2 separate regions of the Homo sapiens genome follow, and region 1 is linked to region 2. Evidence: promoter capture Hi-C in 16 types of primary human blood cells and fetal thymus (Javierre and others, 2016). All regions are on one chromosome and are shown on one strand. Each heading gives the region's core, a stretch centred on a gene start or on the middle of the fragment in contact. The rest is flanking DNA. Distances are from core to core; before and after follow the strand shown. Region 1 has its middle 26 kb from the start of CD24. Region 2 holds the start of RTN4IP1 (reticulon 4 interacting protein 1).

What was found. The method cuts DNA at HindIII sites, captures the fragments that hold promoters and counts their contacts. A CHiCAGO score of 5 or more calls a contact.
Region 1: a contact is called between a fragment that was not itself captured here and the fragment with the promoter of RTN4IP1 in region 2, in 3 of 17 cell types (total B cells, naive B cells and neutrophils). The highest score is 7.2, in total B cells.

The regions. Positions count from the first base shown.
Region 1 is chr6:106,997,093-107,003,548 of GRCh38, reverse strand. No RefSeq gene overlaps it. Among named protein-coding and RNA genes, the nearest start is that of CD24, 26 kb to the right of the region's middle. The HindIII fragment of the contact is 1,804 bases long and covers 3,502-5,305 here.
Region 2 is chr6:106,625,494-106,631,828 of GRCh38, reverse strand. It overlaps RTN4IP1 (reticulon 4 interacting protein 1), which reads left to right and starts at 2,331. Exons shown (of 9, transcript NM_032730.5): 1 at 2,331-3,081. The coding sequence starts at 2,808. QRSL1 (glutaminyl-tRNA amidotransferase subunit QRSL1) reads right to left here and starts at 2,251. Exons shown (of 11, transcript NM_018292.5): 1 at 2,124-2,251. The coding sequence starts at 2,147. RefSeq lists enhancers at 2,020-2,079, 2,110-2,249. The HindIII fragment of the contact is 4,979 bases long and covers 1-3,286 here.

The sequences.
Region 1 (6,456 bases), core at 3,154-5,653, 370 kb before region 2:
TAAAAGCTGTAAATAGCTGAAAAGTTTCCTTGACTCTGAAAAACAAAACAAAGGATCATCAACGTTTTAAGCAAAATTAAAAAAAAATGACTTTCGACTTCTTCAGCTTAATTCTGATTGGTATACATGAACATTTCAGCTCTCCATGAGTCCTGAAAGTGTTTTCCTCTATTCTAATGTTACAATTTCCAAAGTTATCAGAAACTTGCATTTAAGAATATCTGTCAGTGGGGCGTGGTGGTTCACGCCTGTAATCCTAGCACTTTGGGAGGCCCAGGTGGGTGGATCACCTGAGGTTGGGAGTTCGAGACCAGCCTGACCAACATGGAGAAACCCTGTGTCTACTGAATACAAAATTAGCCGGGCGTGGTGGTGCACACCTGTAATCCCAGCCACTCGGGAGGCTGAGGCAGGAGAATTGCTTGAACCCAGGGAGCGGAGGTTGTGGTGAGCTGAGATCACACCACTGCACTTCAGCCTGTGCAACAAGAGTGAAACTCCCATCTCAAATTAAAAAAAAAAAGAATATCTGTCAAAGTCCTGTAGTTGATCATAAGCCACCTTCTAAAGACGATTAAAATAAGACAACAATTGACTGTGGATGACAAAAAGTCCTAGGATAGCCATTATTAAAGTCACAAGTTACTGGGAAATTGTGGTCACTTCTATGGTACACAACAATTTCACATAACAATTATAATTATTAATAACATACACTAAGTCATATCAGAAATATAGGAGTTTTTTTATAATTTTGCAACATATACTAATAACACATTTATACAAATACAGCCCCAAGTAAGCAAAACACCATTTCATATTTGATAATGCTTCCTGTATGATTTTTATACCAAATAAGCCAAATATCACTGTTGCATTAGTGCATTATTGATGTCAAACTCAATTCTTGATAAAACGTTATAGATAAATGTAGCCAATTTTATTTAGTTTGACCACAAGGTAAGATTTTCATAGCCTTTTATAACCCTTTACAACTTTTGTTAAAGAGCAGATCATAAGCAGGTTTTTGTCTAAGAAAAACCTGTTGTGCTTTTATTCCAATGTTTAATTTACAGAAAAACTGAATACCCCTTTAATTTTAGCCAATATGTTCACACACAGAATTTTTTTTTACATTTAATTTTTTTCGCAAATCTCTCATAACTTGTTTAAACCTTTAGATTTTTCCTATCTCACTCAAAACAATTCTTTAACCCTTTAATCTAGGCAAAAAAAAAAAAAAATCCACATTCCCATGACTTCTTATCTTTTACCAAAAACACACTTCACTTTTTTTTTGTTTTGAGACAGAGTTTCGCTCTTGTTGCCCAGGCTGGAGTGCAATGGTGTGATCTCGGCTCACTGCAACGTCCACCTCCCAGGTTCAAGCAATTCTCCTGCCTCAGCCTCCTGAGTAGCTGGGATTATAAGCATGCACCACCACGCCCGGCTAATTTTGTATTTTTAGTAGAGACGGGGTTTCTCCATGTTGAGGCTGGTCTCGAATTCCTGACCTCAGGTGATCCGCCCGCCTTGGCCTCCCAAAGTGCTGGGATTACAGGTATGAGCCACCGCACCCGGCCACATTTCACTTTTTCTATACACCTTGCACGTATAACTTTTTTTTTAGTAGTCCCAAATATATGTTACACTGTTAACTCTTAGCAACTTTTACTTTTGGTGAAAACCTTGGTAAGTTCAGAATTTTTTTTTTAGACGGAGTCTTGCTCTGTTGCCAGGCTGGAGTGCAGTGGCCCGATCTCAGCTCACTGTAACCGCAGCCTCCCGGGTTCAAGTGATTCTCCTCCCACAGCCTCCCAAGTAGCACCACCATGCCTAGTTAAATTTTGTATTTTTAGTAGAGACAGGGTTTTACCATGTTGGCCAGGATGGTCTCAATCTCTTGACCTCGTGATCCACCTGTCTCGGACTCCCAAAGTTCTGGGATTACAGGCGTGAGCCACTGTGCCTGGTTGAGTTCAGATTTTTAATTATGTGCTAGGTGTGGAGCCTGTGACAGTAGACAGAAGTGCAGATAAGGTCTGACTCTTTTCGTTGTCTAACTTCATGTGTCCCAGGCCTTATCTAGCTGTAAAGCAGGAAAGTTGTACAGTTAAGAGTCCTAATGGCATTTTATGAAGCATTTAGGAGACCCAGAAACCTTTAACTTATATATTTCTTGCATAAATTCCCTTTTTTAAAGCAATCAGTCATTTTACTTTAGGACAAGTATTCACCATACAACATCCTTTCTTATACAAAATTTCTTCTTTTATTTCTTTTCTTTTCTTTCTTTTTTTTTTGAGACAGAGTCTTGCCCTATCGCCCAGGCTGGAGTGCAGTGGCCCGATCTTGGCTCACTACAACCTCCACCTCCCGGGTTGAAATGGTTCTCCTGCCTCAGCCTCCTGAGTAGCTGAGATTACAGGTGCCTGACACCACTCCCGGCTCATTTTTGTATTTTCAGTAGAGATGGGGTTTTGCCATGTTGGCCAGGCTAGTCTAAAACTCCTGACCTCAAGTAATCCACCCTCCTCGGCCTCCCAAAATGCTGGGATTATGAGTGTGAGCCACCACACCCAGCCTTAAAATCTTTTCTTTATAACCTTCTTTGCATAGCTAGGGGGCATGGCTAATTCCACATATCCTAGTCTTTATTTAGAATCTAATGCTCCAAAGTAGGTAAATTGAACAATTTTCAAAAGACAAAGAAGCACTTTATGACCTTAAAGCATTTAGTAAACTTAATATCTGACTTGCATAATTTAGACCAAATGCTTACTTTTTTTTTTTTTTTTTTTTTTTTGAGAGAGTCTTGCTCTGTCACCCAGGGTGGAGTACAGTGGCGCGATCTCGGCTCACTGAAACCTCCACCTCCTAGTGCAAGCAATTCTCCTGCCTCAGTTTCCCGAGTAGCTCGGACTACAGATGTCCACCACCACGCCCGGTTAATTTTTGTATTTTTAGTAGAGACGGGGTTTCACCATGTTGGCTAGAATGGTCTCAATTTCTTGACATCGTAATCTGCCCGCCTCACCCTCCCAAAGTGCTGGGATTACAGGTGTGAGCCACCGCGCCTGGCCGGGAGTTTCTTTATTCCATTTCAGCAGGGCCAGAGATGTCCATGAAGGCCTTGGTGTGTGATGGAACAGACAGTTGTCTAAGGGGTGCACAATGAATGCAAGTTCTTCCCATCTCCGAGTCAAGGGTTTTCTGGGAAACAGTAGGGGATAACAACTTTCATAAATTTATACAATTATATACACTGAATTTATACGATTATGTACGTATATAATTATGTACATATTTGATTGTGTACACTGAGAAGATTAAGCCAACTCTTTCAAACTCATGGAGTTTACTTCTTGAAATTGAAAGGCCTCAGAGATAAGCCTCAGAACCAAGTTCCCTCTCTTGACTTTTCCCAGCTTTTCTGTCTCTTTGTTTCTCTTTCTTTCCCAGGAACTCTCTCTGGAATTTCCTTATCTGACTAACAAAGCTTCTTTCCAAAATAAATGCAATTATTTTAAGACCCCTCTCTCTAGGAACCTCATCAGATAGCCAGGAATGATCAACTACCCGAGAATAGAAGAGACTGGGAGTCATCACCATACCCAGATAGACTTTCCATCTATTTTTATTTTATTATGTAAATTTTAAATTATTAGTAAAAAAAACCTTTTTTTTTGAGACAGAGTCTTGCTCTGTTGCCCAGGCTAGAGTGTGCGATCTTGGTTCACTGCAACTTCTGCCTCCTGGGTTCAAGCTATTCTCCTGCCTCAGCCTCCCAAGTAGCTGGGATTACAGGCACCTGCCACTGTGCCCGGCTCATTTTTGTATTTTTAGTAGAGATGGGGTTTCACCATCTTGGCCAGGCTGGTCTCGAGCTCCTGACCTTGTGATCCACCCGCCTTGGCCTCTCAAAGTGCTGGGATTACAGGCGTGAGCCACCGCTCCCGGCCAAAAAAAATTTTTTTTGAGACAGCAGCTCACTCTGTCAACCAGTGTGGAGTACAGTAGCGAGATTACAGCTCACTGCAGCCTCTACCTTCCAGGGTCAAGCAATCCTCCTAACTCAGCCTCCACCACTTCAGCCTCCAGAGTAGCTGGGACTACAGCTGTGTGCCTGGCTTTTGTGTTTGTGTGTATGTGTGTGTGTGTGTGTGTGTGTGTGTGTGTAGACACAGGGTTTTGTCATGTTGCCCCGGCTGGTCTCAAACTACTGGGCTGAAAGGGCCCTCCTACCTCAGCCTCCCAAAGTGCTGGGTTAAAGGTGTGAGCCACTGTACGCAGCCTTCAACTATTCTTCTTCTTTTTTTTTTTTTTTTGAGACGGAGTCTCCCTCTGTCACCCAGGTTGGAGTGCAGTGGCTTGATCTTGGCTCACTGCAACCTCCAATTCCCAGGTTCAAGTGATTATCCTGCCTCAGCCTCCCCAGTAGCTGGGATTACAGGCACTTGCATCCACACTGGCTAATGTTTGTATTTAGTAGAGACAGGGTTTCCCCATGTTGGCCAGGCTGGTCTCAAACTCCTGACCTCAGGTGATCTGTCCGCCTCGGCCTCTGAAAGTGCTGGGATTGCAGGGGTGAGCCACCGAACCAGGTGGAGCTTTTAACTATTCTTCTGACAGCAGCCCTGAGAGATTGCCTGGGAGACTTTATCTGCATAATAAGACAACATTGATGGTCTGGGCGGTGGCTCATGTGTGTGTGTAATCCCAGCACTTTGGGAGACTGAGGCAGGTGGATCACCTGAGGTCAGGAGTTTGAGACCAGCCTGACCAACATGGTGAAACCCCGTCTCTACTAAAAATACAAACATTAGCCGGGCGTTGTGGTGCGCACCTGTAGTCCTAGCTACTGGGGAGGCTGAGGCAGGAGAATTGCTTGAACCCGGGAGGTGGAGGTTGCAGTGAGCCAAGATCATGCCACTGCACTCCAGCCTGGGTGACAGAGTGAGACTCTGTCTCAAAAAAAAAAAAAAAAAAAAAGAACACTTGTTCACAGTAATAGTCCACCCCTCACCTTCCTGCCGCCTTCCCCAGTGCTCAAAGGAACTTTGTCCCCAGCCATCGTTCTTTGGCTCATTCATTTCCTTTGGAAATCATTTACTCCTACAACCCCTGTCTCCCTTTCCCCATGGAGAAGAATATAAGCAGCCGGGCCTCATCGGGTTACTGGGTAATCATAGTCTTGTGATTTTCTTCTATGCACATTAAGTAAATTTCGTATGCCTTTTTCTCCTGTGTATCTGCATTTCATCAGTTTATGCTCTGCAAACCTTCAGTGGGCAGAGAGAAAGCTTTCCCTCTGCCCCCAGTGTGGCAACAGGCCTGACTGGGGCAATGCTGCTGCCTTGCTTTTGACGCCCCCCACACACGACCGCGTCCCCCTTTCTGCTCTGTGGAACGCCTCCAGCCCCTGCTGAGGCTGGCTTGCCCATGGCAGAATGTCACCTCAGGTTGGGGGCCTTTCAAAATGCACCCCAGAGAGCTCTCCTGGGAGCCCACGTCTGGAACGTAGAGCTGAGTGTCTCTGGCTGACGTTGGAGGATGGGCAGGCTGCCCATGATGCAGCCCCTTTCCTGCTCTGGCACAGCCTTGACCTTTAAATTTCTCATTCTTTTTTCTTCTTCCACTAAACTCTAAGAGATAAGTGTTTGTCTCTCCCGTTATTCCCCTAAGAGCACCTCTCACTGGACTGGGGTGAGGAGAAAGCGCCTTTGCTCTGCAGTTCCTGCAGGGGGCGCTTGGCACCTCACTTTGGAACCTGAGAACTTGTTTTGTTGAAGGCCTTTGAGCTTCGGTTGAAATGGAGACAGAAAGGACTTCCATGTTCACATCCTGTTACACTCTCCAGCATAAATATGATCATTTTCATTTTACAGGAGGCTCAGAAAGGCAAGTCTGTGGTGGAAGTGGGTGAGCTGAAATCTGAGCTCAGGTCTGCTTGATCCTGTAGGTTACAGATGAGACAGAAATGATATGCCCTGTTGTACCCAGGGTGGCCACATCTGAGGCTCTAAGACAAATAAAAAATTACCACCATAGTGGAAAGATTAAATTCTCATGTACAACCAAATCAAAGTCTTCATATACAGTTAGAATAAAACACAAATTTCAGAAGAATGACCCACATACGTGTCGGTTTATTAGTGAGTGAAGATGTGTTTTAGAAACTGGTTATATAAATCAAAAAACTACCATCGAAGGGCTCTAAGATTAGCCAGGAGGCTTAATAGTATCCTAATTTAAGAGTTACTTGAAGATATTTTCTAAGATTGCTGTTTCTGTTGAGATATAAAATGGCTCTTAGCCTAGGATGTTAATAAATTCAAGATAAAGTGAGTAGGCGGAGTTAGAGTAAAAGGTGGCCTTCCTCTCATTGTGCTTGGATTCTGGTGGTTCCTGTGTAGAAATTCATTTGCTGAGGACTTATTATGTACTAGGCACTTT
Region 2 (6,335 bases), core at 1,082-3,581:
GAGTATAACTGGAACGTTTGTAACACAAAGAAATGATAAATGCTTGAGGTGATGGATACACCATTTACTCTGATGTGATTATTATGCATTGTATGCCTGTATCAAAATATCTCATGTGCCCCATAAATACATACACCTACTATGTACCCATTAAAATTTTTTTTTAAAAACAATCATAAGACTGCAAAAAACACAACCTTGCACAAAGGCCATTGCAACCTTCCACACACACGAGTACTTCTGTAAGAATGTCTGTCCAGCAACTGGCCATCCAACCTTGGACTGATGCCACCTTTGTGACTGATCCTTGTGGCCAAGGATAACTGATTCAAAATAATTTAAGTAATCCTTCTCATTCTGTCTTTAAAAACATCCCTTGCCTCAACCTTCTTGAATAGGCACATAGTTTACAATATTACACATATTCCCATTGCATTGCTACTCCAAAATAAATATTTTCTTTAGAGTCTCTTTCTGTTACTTAGATTGACAGTGGAAAAGGCAGAAAAAGGAAATAACATATTTTTATAGGTTGTATTTAATTTTAAAACAAGTTTTGGGTGTTGTCTGTTTATTTATTTTTATTTTATTTATTTATTTTTTGAGACGGAGTCTTGCTCTGCCGCCCAGGCTGGAGTGCAGTGGCGTGATCTTGGCTCACTGCAAGCTCCGCCTCCCGGGTTCACGCCATTCTCCTGCCTCAGCCTCCCGAGTAGCTGGGACTACAGGCGCCCGCCACTACGCCCGGCTAATTTTTTGTATATTTAGTAGAAATGGGGTTTCACCGTGTTAGCCAGGATGGTCTCGATCTCCTGACCTCGTGATCCACCCGCCTCGGCCTCCCAAAGTGCTGGGATTACAGGCGTGAGCCACCGCGCCGGGCATATTTATTTTTTAAAGAACAAATTTGATTCGACGCAATTTAAAATGATAACATAATAATGTATTTTGGGGGAAGAACTATTATTTAAAGCCTGTGGATTTCAATTTCTCATTATATATTACAGCTATCTATAATTATAATTCCACGCTGCCAGCTGGGAAACAAACAAAACGACAACTTCTAGGGTGGAATAAAAAGGAAGATGGAAGGCAGTTTAGGTCATCAGCGCCTACTTCTTACCAGAAATCACCTGGAGCCTCCATTAAACCATACTCCCGAACTTACCACACAGCTCTAATTAAGTCTAGAGTGGGGCATAGTTTTAGTTTCAACAGGTGCTTTATGTGACTCTGATAGCAATGGGCCTGCAGACAGTTCTAAGGTTGAGTGACGTGAACCAGGAAGCAAAAAGACCCGAATTAAAGCTATAACAGCAGAAATAACGTAAGAGGGCAGATTCCAGCCATATCTGCAAGATAGAATGAAGAGGGCTTAGTGATTTATTGGATATGAAAGATGAGGAAGAATCTAAAGGCAAATGAGATAATAGTTGTGCCATTAAAAAGAGTCTATTAAGAATTCAGAAATACCAGAGCTTTTTTAAGACGGGGGTTGAGAGGTAAGTCCTGTTACAATGATTACTTCAACACCGATTAAAGTGAATTTGAGGGTGCTTATGTGACATTTAGAAGAACTGCCCAGAAAGCATTCACAAATACAGTCTAGAATTCAAACACGACGTCCAGGACATGGAGACACGGGTTAGGAAATCACTGGTATCTTAGTGGTAGGTAAATCCTAGAGAACGAATTCTTTGAAAAAAGCCAAAAATTACTCATTTGAATTTTGCAAACTACAGTTTCGCCGGGCTTCTTAGCGACAACTGCAGCTAAGTGTCGGGGACAGAAGAGAGACTGAAGTGGCCCCGCAAGCCCCCTTTGGCAAAGCCCACTCCGAGACCATCCGGATCCCGACCTACACCAGAGCAAATGTCTAATGGTGAGAAGCCGCTTCACCACCCTACAGATCCGCGGTGCAGAGATTTCCCTGCTAAGGTCCTAACTCCTGAATGGGTACGGCGAGTACACCCGAAGAATCGAAAGGTACTTATCCCCCACTCAGTTCTAGAGGAAGCAGCGAGGTGGGCCAAGATGCGTGGTAAGGCCCAGGGACTCTTTGTCAACGAAGTCCGTTAAACTTTCCGCCCTCCCGGGGGCCTCAGCGGGCCAATTCCACTCACTTCTCGGAGGCTCCGGCCCAGCATGGTCCTCGTGCCCAGCCTGCCACCACAGGAGCCAGGCAAGGGGGAAAAAGAGGTCACCGGTCGCTAGTGATGTTACATGGGCGCAGCCATCTTTAATTGTCACTGAGCCCTTCAACACCGAGTACTTGGATTGGTTGAATTGCAGCCCGAGGAAATGATCTTTGTAGGCGATTGGTTGGCGCCGCAAAGCCATCCCGGCGGCTAAGGAGAGCGGGCAGGCAAGGAGATTCCGGGCCAGGGTCGCGGCGGCAGTCGGCAAGCGTTCGATTCTCTGGCGTTGGATCGCGAGCGGTGTCTGCTTGTCCCGCCGAGGGCTCCCAGGACAGGGCAGGGATCTAGGGGGTTTGCGCACCTGCTTTTTAATGCCCCGCCCCCCCTTTTTTTTTTAAAGTGGAGGGGGTGAAAGTGAGGGAGGAGAATGGACAGAATACTGACTGGAACGTTAATTCGAGCATTTCATATGCGAAGAGCGGAATAACAGTTCCGTATTCTTCTTTCAGTTTCTCCATTAGATTAGCTTCATTTTCGAATGCTCCGTTTTGCATGCTTAATTTTGAAACTAGCCCGTGGTTTGGCAGAATTTGACTGAATTCAGGGGTGAGAGTTTGATCCAGTCCAAGTGTATTTGAATTTGAGCACGCAGTTCAACCAGTGTTTACAATGGAATTTCTGAAGACTTGTGTACTTAGAAGAAATGCATGCACTGCGGTTTGCTTCTGGAGAAGCAAAGTTGTCCAAAAGCCTTCAGTTAGAAGGATTAGTACTACCTCTCCTAGGAGCACTGTCATGCCTGCTTGGGTGATAGATAAATATGGGAAGAATGAAGTGCTTCGATTCACTCAGAACATGATGATGCCTATCATACACTATCCAAATGAAGTCATTGTCAAAGTTCACGCTGCCAGTGTAAATCCTATAGACGTTAATATGAGAAGTAAGTTTTCAAAAGACATTGTTACCTTTTTTAAAAAAATCACTTTCATAAGGTATGCCGTTTTAAAAAATTGACTACGCTTCTTTGGTTTACATAAATGAATCATTTAGGTTTTTAACAATACCTCTGCAAATATTTCCAAAATTTTTGAAATTGCAATGGCCAGGGAATCCTTCTGGCCATTTGTATTGACAAAATATAAGCTTGATTGTTTTCATGCGTCCTTAAATATGTAAGTTCAGACTTGAGAACTGTGTCTGTAGCTAACTTTTTTTTTTTTGAGACTGAGTCTCACTCTGTCACCCAGGCTAGAGTGCGGTGGCCTGATCTCAGCTCACTGCAACCTCCGCATCCTGGGTTCAAGCAATTTCTCCTGCCTCAGCCTCCCGAGTAGCTGGGATTACAGGCGCATGCCACCACACCGGGCTAATTTTTTGTATTTTTAGTAGAGATGGGGTTTCACTATGTTGGTCAGGCTGGTCTCGAACTCCTGACCTCAGGCGATCCTCTGCCTCCGCCCCCTAAGTGCTGGGATTACAGACGAGCCATTGCGCCCTGCCTATGTTTGTAGCTAAATTTCTGTCCAGGGAACTTTGTGGTATTCTGAGATCCGTCACAGGCTTCGGAAGTATAGTTGTTTCCTAGTCAGTTTAGAATTTATGGGGTTTTTTGTTTGTTTTTGAGACAGAGTCTCACTCTATCGGCAGGCTGGAGTGCAAGGGCGCTTTCCTGGCTCACTGCAACCTCCGCCTTCCGGGTTCAAGCGATTCTCCTGCTTCAGCCTCCCAAGTAGCTGGGACTACAGACATGCGCCGCCACACCCAGCTAATTTTTGTATTTTTATAGAAACGGGAGTTTCACTGTGTTGGTGGGAGGCTGAGGCAGGAGAATCGCTTGAATCCGGAAGGCGGAGGTTGCAGTGAGCCAAGAACGCGCCCTTGCACTCCAGCCTGCCGATAGAGTGAGACTCCATCTCAAAAAAAAAAAAAAAAAAAAAAAAAAAAGCATTGAAATGACTTTACTGTGATTGTCTCATGAAGTCTACGTTTGTATTCTTTGTTTTGAAGTAGTAATTGCTACTACCAGTTGGGCATGCCGTTTTCCTTTATTCTTTTTATATTAGGCTTGAAGAGAATTCAGTTTTTTATAAGATATGTCTTTTAGTGGTAAGTTTTACTCAATGATCAGCATGTTTTTTCATCTCCTTTGATTGTAAGTTCTTTCAAGATTGATCCCATGCTTTGTCAACCTGTTTCAGTGCTTCACATACGCAGTTGTCATTCAGTCACTATTTCTATGCCTTTTTATATTTTTGTTCTGACTTAAGATAACAAACTTAAATTAGCAGTATTTTATCTATGAGTAATTTTTACATTTTGTCTTCGTTTAGGTCTGTTAGCTTTTTATTTCTTTAAATGCACATGCGTAATTCATGCCGTGTACATTTTCATTTAAACAGAATGGCTGTATCTAGACTTTTCTTGGCTGCTGTTTAATAATATAACACTGTAAAACATTTTACTTTTATATAGTATTCTTGAAACATCTTAGTTTTTTATGACTTGAATGGGTAATATTATTCGCAAGTTATCCTCTTTTTTTTTTTCTCCTACCTTTTGAGGATATTTATTGTCATTGCAGAAGATATCTGAAACAGTAGCTTGGGGAAATAAAATAATGAGTAGAAGACTGTAAACTGTAGGAAGCAGTTATTTCCCTTGGCAAGAAAGCAAGAGACATGTCTATTTTATTTGAAAGATGAAGGCTGGCTGTTTTTCTGGAGACGGCCACTACTGTTGGACGTAAAATAATAAATCATAGAAATGGCTAAAGAAATGAAGAATTTTTACATGGGGAAAAAATGCAGCCAACAGCATCATACCAACAAAGTTTGGTGTCTTTAGATGGGATTAAAGTCTTTAAACTGATGACAGATTTAGGATTTTTCAAATTGGCCCAACTCTCTGAACAAGTCAAGGTGTCAACCCCTGTCAATAGGATGGAACACTTAAGGGCCCCATTCAGTCATCCGTGTCACCAAACAGGTTCTCAATTACTAACTGCCAGCTGACTACATTCTGGGTTCAGGGGCTTGTTAGATAGTAACAGTGAGCCAAGGCTACTCAGTTGATGTATTAGCATTATCAGGGGACCAAGAAAACTAAAAACAACCTTGGGCTGCAGGCTCTGTATCTCAAAGAGGACTGAAACCTTTCTGCAGCTCTTAAACAGCAGCTAAAGTTTGACACGACTAAATGTCCACTTCTGTTGTTCAAACCACATAGAAGTTTCAGTGAATAATTGTTTAATTATCTTTAGCAGTGGAAAAGGAATGTAAGGCAGGAAAAGTGAAGCACATGACTTTTGTGAATATTACAAGTGAAGTTGTTTTTTTTTTCCCTGACAGAGTATAATCCTGACTCCCCAGATGGCAAATGTTGTAATGTTGGTATAATGGCCATCAGCTTAGATTTTCTGGGACTTTCCCACCTTTCAAACACTTTATCCCATGTGTCTTGATTTTTTATTAGTAACACAACTCATGCAAGCTACCCACCTGTCAGCATCTCTCTCGGTATCTTCTACCTTCCCTCCTGCTGTATGGATTAGCTGTCACTGCTTTCACATAAGGCCAGCCCTCGGCTTGTGTTTCTGATCCCATCCCCCTCACCTACTCTGGGATATCATTCCGGCAGGTGTCTCCTGCATCATCAGTCTTTTCTTTTCTACTGGATCATCTCCATTAGTATACAGACTTGCTGTTATTTCTCCTTTCTTAAGAAGAAGGAAAAGGCTGGGCACAGTGGCTCACACCTGTAATTCCAGCACTTTGGGAGGCCGAGGCAGGTGGATCACCTGAGATCAGGAGTTCGAGACCATCCTGATCAACATGGAGAAACCCCGTCTCTACTAAAAATTAGCCAGGCGTGGTGGCGCATGCCTGTAATCCCAGCTACTCAGGAGGCTGAGACAGCAGAATCGCTTGAACCCGGGAGGCGGAAGTTGCAGTGAGCCGAGATCACGCCATTGCACTCCAGCCTGGGCAACAGAGCAAGACTCTGTCTCAAAAAAAAAAAAAAAAAAAAGAAAAAAAAGAAAAAAGCCACTCAAAAGTCCTCTGTCCATCCCAGTTCCCACTTCGAGCTACTGCTCCATTTCTCTGCTCCCTTTGCAACAAAACTGTTTTAAAGAGAGTTCAGTCTTCTCATGTCTCCAGTCCCTTATTTCCCATTCTCTCAAAAGTGCACTACACA